Regions from separate parts of the Homo sapiens genome. Here region 2 is linked to region 1. Evidence: promoter capture Hi-C in human tissues and cell types (Jung and others, 2019). All regions are on one chromosome and are shown on one strand. The core of a region is centred on a gene start or on the middle of the fragment in contact, and the rest is flanking DNA. Distances in the headings are between cores, read along the strand shown. Region 1 holds the start of P2RX5 (purinergic receptor P2X 5). Region 2 overlaps RAP1GAP2 (RAP1 GTPase activating protein 2).

Region 1 (4,055 bases), core at 841-3,340:
CAGCGGTGTGAAAACCACCCAAATGTCCATCAGCTGATGAATGCATGACCACAATGTGGCAGCCCCACACGGCAGGATAGTATCAGCCACAGAGAGGAATGGAGGGCTGATAGATGCCACAACATGGGTGAACCTTGAAAACATGACACCAAGTGAAAGAAGCCAGAAAAAAAAAAAAAAAGGCCGCATACTATACAATTTCATTTATACGAAATACCCAGAATAGGCAAATCCATAGAGACAGATTCTCCTGCCTCAGCCTCCCGATTAGCTGGGATTACAGGCGCCACTATCATGCCCAGCTAATTGTTGTGTATTTTTAGTAGAAACAGGGTTTCTCCATGTTGGCCAGGCTGGTCTCGAACTCCTGACCTCAGGTGATCCACCCACCTCGGCTTCCCAAAGGGCTGGGATTATAGGCATGAGCCACAGCGCCCGGCCGCCAATTTCCTAATTTTCATACTTGTACTTAGTTAAATATGTCCTGCTTTCCCTGCCATGTGAGGACACAGCGAGAGGGTGGCCATCTGCAAGCCAAGGAGAGAGCCCCCCCTGAGACCCCGAACCATGCTACCACCCTCGTCTCAGATTTCCACATCCAGGACTGCGAGAATTAAATTTCTATTGTTCAAGCAAAAGCAACTCCATTTATTCATTCATGCGTTCATTTCACATCTATTCCCTAAGCAGTTAAGTGCTGCTGGGGCCCCACCCTCAGGGCATTCCCGGACTGACAGCGACATCAGGCAAATGATCCCCCAAATAAGCCCAATAATTACACTGTGGGAAGGCCAGGGAGGAAGGGAGAGGGAGTTACTGGAAAGCCCAGATCTGGGGGCTGAGTGGATGCTAAGGGAGTGGAGGAGGACGGGCAGGCCTGGCTGAGCAACAGCACAGCGCCTACGAGGCCGCTCAGGTGGGAGGCGGCCAGGGGCCTGGGGATGCAGCTCAGAGAACGCGGACTGCTGGACCTCCGAGGGAGAGCCAGGCGTCAGGGCTGCCCTCCCAGGAGGAAGCAGGAGGAACTCCACCGCATTTACTGAACGAGTGGAATGAGGCGCATCCCCATTGTCCAGCGCTGCTTCTCCCCTCCACCTGCTCACCCCCGACCCACCCCGGGGTCAGGGCTCTGAAGGCGCCTGGCAGAGCAGCCTCCACAAGTTGCCTCTTTGGCTTTGTGGCGCCAGCTCCTGCCAGGTGGCATGAGGATGGGGGAAGGGGATGGCCGAGCTGGGTGCAGAGATAGAGGCCTCTGGGCAGGACCCCCAGCTGGACACCAGAGAGGCTGGCCGCGGGTGGGGCAAGTTGACCGGAAGGGAGCTCAGGAACATGCCGGGCTGATGAGTTTCTCCAGCTCTGAGTAGGCAGTGACACCCTGTGATTATAAATAACCTGCCGGCGCCTGGGTCAGCTGCCAGGCCAAGGCCCAGGGAGGCTCCTGGGGCGACAGCTGCCACCCAGCCCCCTGGCATCCCTGCCCCCTTCCCATGGCCCTAACACGTGGGGACCCGACTCTGGGAGAAGCAGCTGCAGGGAAAGCCTGATAAATCGAGGAAACCAGAAGGCCCCTGCCCACCTCTCATCACCTCTAGCGCCAGTGGGGGAGTGGAGAGCCCCCTCTCTACACCCTACTCCTACACCCAAGGACCCAAAGAGGACCCCCACAGCAAGCAGGCTCACAGACCCCCAGCTACCGGGAAAACCGCGTGCACGCCTGCGAATTCCAGGACCCTGGAGAAGGACGCGGCGGCTGGCACCCGCCCTGCCCCTCCCCCGCCTTCCCAAAAGTCCGCGGAGAACTTACACGACCAGGTACGCCAGGATGGAGGCCTGCAGCAGCCGGTACAGCAGGCCCACCTTCTTGTTCTTGGCGATGACATACTTCTCGGTCTTGTAGTCGAACAGCGACAGGCAGAGCCCCTTGCAGCCCGCCTGCCCCATGGCGCGCTCTCAGCCGGGCTTGCGGACCGCCCGGCCCACGTGCGCTCATGGGGAGCACTCGGTCCCTCGGTCCCTGCGCGCCCGGCGCCCGCCTCGGCCCGTCTGCGCCCGCTCAGCTGCAGCCCGGGGTGTCCGGCAGGGCTGCGGGGCGCGGGGGCGGGTCGGGGCGGCCTTTTATTGACGCGGTTGAGAAAGCCTCGGCTGGGAGCTGGGCGGCGGCGAGCACCGGAACCTCAGACCGCGACCTTGCCGCTACCTCTTCTTCCTCCTCCTCCTCCTCCTCCCCTGACACAGTGACACCCCTGCAACCTACTCCCCAGCCACCGGTCTGGGAGCGCAGCCCCCCGGATGCGCAGGACCGCCCTGTGCTGTTGCCCAGCTGAAAGCAGCGATCGCGGAGGAGAGGAAGTGAAAGGGGGAAGGGCTCCTTTTTATTTTATTTTAAATTTATTTATTCATTTATTTTTGAGACGGAGCCTCGCTCTGTCGCCGAGGCTGGAGTGCAGTGGTGCGATCTCAGCTCACTGCTACCTCCGCCTCCCGGGTTCAAGCGATTCTCCTGCCTCAGCCTCCCAAGTAGCTGGGACTACAGGCGTGATAATTTTTGTATTTTTAGTAGAGACGGGGTTTCACCATGTTGGCCAGGCTGGTCTTGAACTCCTGACCTCAGGTGATCCGCCCACCTCGGCCTCCCAAAGTGCTGGGATTACAGGCGTGAGCCACCGCGCACGGCCGGGAAGAGCTCCGTTTAAAGCAAAACTCCCCTTTCTCTCGCAAAGAAATCCCAAAGGGTTCTTCCTATTGAATAGATGGGGAACTGAGGCCAGGGGAGGAAGGAAGGGGACACAACAGGTTTCTCCATTCACCTCGCGCCAGGTCTCCTGCCAGGGAGATACATTCTTGCTCCGTGGGCAGGGGGTGGTTGTGGGGGGGAAGCCGTGGCTCCCCCACAGGCTGGAAGAGACAAGACTTGTCCCACCTGAGGCTGCCTGTGTCTGCTGCGACTAATGCGCGTTTCTACTGCAGCAGCTGCTGCAGGTTTAAAAGCCCACACTCCGGCGGAGTCGGTGGTCAGGCAGGTCCCGAGTGCCGGCAGCATGAAGACCTCCCTCCCACACTCAGGGCGGATGGTGCGGGGGTGGGGGGCAGACGGGGTGGGGGCGGGGAGACACAGGCAACCCACCCTAGGATCCTAAAAATATGCCTGGAGAGTGCGCATGTACCAACTGTTTGGAATGGTTCCCAACGCACAAGAAATAGAACTGATCCATGCAGCTATGACTGCAACCCTCTCAGTATGTGGAATTCAACAGGAGTGGGAGTGGGATGAGGGAGGGCCTCCGGGGGGGCAGGTTTAGAACTCCTGACAGCCAAAGACGCAGGGCCCTGGGTGAGCGCGGTGTGGTGAGGAGCTGCGCACGCTTATTTTCTGCATCCTGCAGTCTGACCACAAGCAGTCCTGCTCCTCTCCCTACCCCTGGCTTTCACACACAAAGAGGCTCCCTTCCCTAAGCCACAGACTCGGGGAACTGGAAGGTACCCTGAAATTCATCAGTGTGATTCTAAAGTAAAAGCCCCAAGGAAGGTGTCCAGTTTCAAAGTGCATGGGAATCATGTGGAAGAAAAAAAGGCAAATTCCTAGGCCCTGCCCCTCAAATTTTCATTCACGAAATCTAAGATGGGGCTGGGAACCTGTATTTTGCTCTCAAACTGTCATTTGGGAAAGCGTGGATCTTTGCATCTTTTCATCCATTTCAACTCAACTGCCATTTCTTCAAAAAGGCCTGTTATTATTGCCCACCCAAAGTAGCCCCCAGTCCCAGCCCAGCCACTTTCTATCCCATTATCTCATCTTATTCCCTTAGAGCACCTGTCACTATCCAGTAGGATCTCGTTGACTTAGTGACTGTGTCCCATGCTAAGACCAGAAGCTCCCGGAGAGCAGGGACCATGCCTTTGGACATCTCTGTATGTCCCTGTGCCTGCCACATAATAGTTCTAGACATATTATTGAATGAGTGGACAAACCTGGCCCTGATTTTTTTTTTTTTCAACAGGGAGGGCATTTCGATTCCACCCTGCCCCAGTCATGACTGCGAATTTTAGGGGCTGAA
Region 2 (4,055 bases), core at 417-2,916, 780 kb before region 1:
GGTAGGTAAGGCAGGTGTGCAGGCTTCCTATGGCAGGGAAGAGGATGGAGATCAGAGGAGCCTCCTCCTTGCCCCTCTCTATCCCTCTGGGCAGAGCTGGGCTGGGCCTCCCTTTCTGGCTCATGGATTACCCACCGGCCACCCTCTCTCCCTGGGGTTGGGGGGTGGTGTGTGGGGGCTTCTGTTCCAGCTTGTAGCACAGCCCCCGGCCTGATTTCGTCTCTTCTTTTGCTCCTGGTTCCTGCCTCCTGTCTTCTGTTAGGCTGTGCAGGGAGACTTGCCCCTCATCAGGGTGGAGTGACAGTGTCAGCCCCCCATACATCCACCAGCTCTGGATGGATGAAGGGAGGAGGCATTTGTGGGAGGGTTGACGGGAGCCTTTCTGGGCTGGGGCAGGAAGGGCTGAAGGACATCAGCAAGGAGGTTTGGTTTTTCCCTCTTCAAGAAAACCCTGTGTAGGGACAGGAGAGGACAGATATATATTCCCTCCATCCCTACTGCTGGAGGGAGGCCCTTGCTGAAGCTCTGTGGGTCCTGGGAGAGTCACCTCTGGTCTCCACATCGATTGTGTTTCTGTTGCCGCTCCGGACATGGTTGGGATACAACCCCATCTCCTCAGGAGCCACTGCCCATTGTTCTCTTGACTCCATCCAGGAGCCAAGGAAGTTCACATCTGATTTAATGCAGGCATGAGGAAGGGCTTATTTGGCTACTGAGGGTGAGGATGCTAACTAGGAGGCTTTAAGAACATGGAGATGTTGGCTGGGCATGGTGGCACATGCCTGAAATCCCAGCATTTTGGGAGGCTGAGGCAGGAGGATCCCTTGAGGCCAGGAGTTTGAGACCAGCCTGGGCAACACAGTGAGACCCCATTTCTACAAAAAATTAAAAAATTAGCTGGGCCTATTGGCTCATGCCTATAGTCCCAGCTACTCTGGAGGCCAAGGTGGGAAGATGGATTGAGCCCAGGAGATTGAGCTTGCAGTGAGTTATGATTGCACCACTGCACTCTAGCCTGGGTGACAGAGCAAAATCCTGTTTCAAAAAAAAAGAAAAAGAAAACATGAAGATGTCTGCATGTGCACCTACTTACCTGCATGCATTTCCCTCCTCACCTGTGCACACCTGAGCATGTGCCTATTTTCCCTAATTCTGTTCTCTTTTTTTTTTGAGATGGAATCTCGCTCTTGTCACCCAGGTTGGAGTGCAGTGGCGTAATCTCAGCTCACTGCAACCCCTGCTTCCTGGGTTCAAGCGATTCTCCTCCCTCAGCCTCCCGAGTAGCTGGGATTACAGGCACACGCCACCATGCCCAGCTAATTTTTGTATTTTTAGTAGAGATGGGGTTTCACCATGTTGGTCAGGCTGCTCTCAAACTCCTGACCTCAGGTGATCCGCCGGCCTCAGCCTCCCAAAGTACTGGGATTACAGGCGTGAGCCACCACACTCGGCCTTCTGTTCATGTTTTAAGGCCAACTTGCTTATGCTTCTGGAAGATTACTCTAGGTGTAACTGGATTTTTAAAAATTTGCAGACACAGAAATGCGTAAGTCTTAATTGTATTGTATACTTTGACTAATGATACACCCACGTGAGCCATACCTTGATCAAGAAACAGGACATTTCTGCAACCCCAGAAAGTTCCCATTGTCCTGACCCAGTCAATCATAACTGCCCCCTTGAGGAGCAAACAGTGTTCTGATTTTTTTCAAAAGTGAGTTTTGTCTGTTCTAGAACTTAATTTTTTTTTTTTGAGGTGGAGTCTCGCTCTGTTGCCCAGGCTGGAGAGCAGTGACGCAATCTCTGCTCACTGCAGCCTCCGCCTCCCGGGTTCAAGGGATTCTCCTGCCTCAGCCTCCCCAGTAGCTGGGATTACAGGTGCCCACTACCACTCCCGGCTAAGTTTTTTGTATTTTTAATAGGGACGGGGTTTCACCATGTTGGCCAGGATGGTCTCGAACTCCCAACCTCAAGTGATCCGCCTTCCTCAGGCCTCCCAAAGTGCTGGGATTACAGGCGAGAGCCACCATGCCTGGCCGGTGACTGTTTATATGAAACTGCTACACTGTTTGCCAAATGGTCAGGCCATCTTATATCCTCACCAGCAGTGTCATTTGAGTTCTCGCTGCTCTGCATCCTCATCAACATTTGCCATTGTTGGTTTTGACAATTTTAGCTACTTGAACGGTATCTCATTGTGGTTTTAATCCACATTTTCTCATGACTAATGATGTTGAATATTTTTCATATGCTTATTGACTATTCTTATAGTTCTTTTTTCCCTTCCTCCTTCCTTTAAATTCGGTAGTCTTCTTGTAGGCGTTCTTTACATATTCTAGTCAAGTTCGTTTCTTTTCTTCTTCTTCTGTTTTTGAGGCAGAGTCTCGCTCTGTCGCCCAGGCTGGAGTGCAGTGGCCCGATCTCAGCTCACTGCAAGCTCTGCCTCCTGGGTTCACACCATTCTCCTGCCTCAGCCTCCCGAGTAGCTGGGACTACAGGCGCCCGCCACCACGCCCGGCAAATTTTTTGTATTTTTAGTAGAGACGGGGTTTCACCGTGTTAGCCAGGATGGTCTCAATCTCCTGACCTTGTGATCCACCCACCTCGGCCTCCCAAAGTGCTGGGATTACAGGTGCGAGCCACTGTGCCCGGCCACTTCTTTTTTTTTTTTTTTGAGACGGAGCCTTGCTCTGTCACCCAGGCTAGAGTGCAATGGCGCCATCTCGGCTCACTACAACCTCCACCTCCTGGGTTCAAACGATTCTCCTGCCTCAGTCCCCCGAGTAGCTGGGATTACAGGTGCCCGCCACCACGCCCAGCTAATTGTTTTATTCTCAGTAAAGACAAGGTTTCACCATGTTGGCCAGGCTGGTCTTGAACTCCTGACCTCGTGATCCGCCCGCCTCGGCCTCCCAAAGTGCTGGGATTACAGACGTGAGCCACTGCGTCCGGCCTTCTTCTTTTTAGAAATAGAGATGGGGACTCACTATGTCGCCCGGGTTGGTCTCAAACTCTGGCCTCAAGTGATCCTCCTGCCTGGGCTCCCAAATTGTTGGGATTACAAGCTTGAGCCACCATTTCTGGCCCATTTCTTTTCTTGTTTTTATTTTTTGGATACAAGGTCTCACTTTGTTGCCCAGGCTGGAGTGCAGTGGTGCGAACAGAGCTCACTGCAGCCTCAACCTCCTGGGCTCAAGCCATCCTTCCACCTCAGCCCCCCGAGTAGCTGGGACTACAGGCTGGTGCCACCACGCCTGACTAATTTTTGAATTTTTTGTAGGGAGAGACAGGGTTTCACCCTGTTGCCCAGGCTGGTCTTGAACTCCTGAGCTCAAGCGATCCGCCCACCTTGGCTTTCCAAAGTGCTGGTATTACAGGCGTGAGCCAACGCGCCTGGCCCATTTCTTTTCTTAACGGTGTCTTTAATGAGCAGAAGTTTTAATTTTGAAGAAGTCTAATTATGGACTCTTTCCTTTTATGTCTGTAGCTTTGTGTGTCCTAAGAAGTCTTTGCTTACCCCAGCTCACAAAGATTTCCTTCCATGTATTCTTTTAGAAGCTTTATTTTTATTTATTTTTTTTGAGACAGAGTCTCGCTCTGTCACCAGGCTGGAGTGCAGTGGCGTGATCTCGGCTCACTGCAACCTCTGCTTCCTGAGTTCAAGCGATTCTCCTGCCTCAGCTTTTCGAATAGCTGGAACTACAGGTGCCTGCCACCACACCTGGCTGATTTTTTTGTATTTTTACTAGAAACGGGGTTTCACCACGTTGGCCAGGATGGTCTCAGTCTCCTGATCTCGTGATCCGCCCGCCTCAGCCTCTCCCAAAGTGCTGGGATTACAGGCATGAGCCACTGCGCCCGGCTAGAAGCTTTATTGTTTTAGCTCTAGGTCTAGGATAAACTTGTTTTAATTTAATTATGTATGGCAGTATGTTGGGGTCTAGGTTCATTTATTGCCATATGGATACTCTGTTGTTCCAGTACTGTATGTTGAGAAGACTTTCCTTTCCTTGCTGAACTGCTTTGGTGCCTTAGTCAAAACTCTGCCAGGCATG

What was found. Contacts are between HindIII fragments. The study calls those that stand out against the background at their distance.
Region 2: a contact is called between a fragment that was not itself captured here and the fragment with the promoter of P2RX5 in region 1, in 1 of the 25 tissues and cell types used here (dorsolateral prefrontal cortex).

Annotation. Positions count from the first base shown.
Region 1 is chr17:3,694,065-3,698,119 of GRCh38, forward strand. It overlaps P2RX5 (purinergic receptor P2X 5), which reads right to left and starts at 2,091. Exons shown (of 12, transcript NM_002561.4): 1 at 1,805-2,091. The coding sequence starts at 1,941. It overlaps P2RX5-TAX1BP3 (P2RX5-TAX1BP3 readthrough (NMD candidate)), which reads right to left and starts at 2,340. Exons shown (of 15, transcript NR_037928.1): 1 at 1,805-2,340. RefSeq lists enhancers at 142-191, 1,162-1,678, 1,791-1,840 and a silencer at 1,961-2,320. The HindIII fragment of the contact is 15,075 bases long and covers 1-4,055 here.
Region 2 is chr17:2,912,136-2,916,190 of GRCh38, forward strand. All of the region lies in intron 3 of RAP1GAP2 (RAP1 GTPase activating protein 2), which reads left to right. Among named protein-coding and RNA genes, the nearest start is that of RAP1GAP2-AS1, 52 kb to the right of the region's middle. RefSeq lists enhancers at 1-393, 2,894-3,647. The HindIII fragment of the contact is 3,290 bases long and covers 22-3,311 here.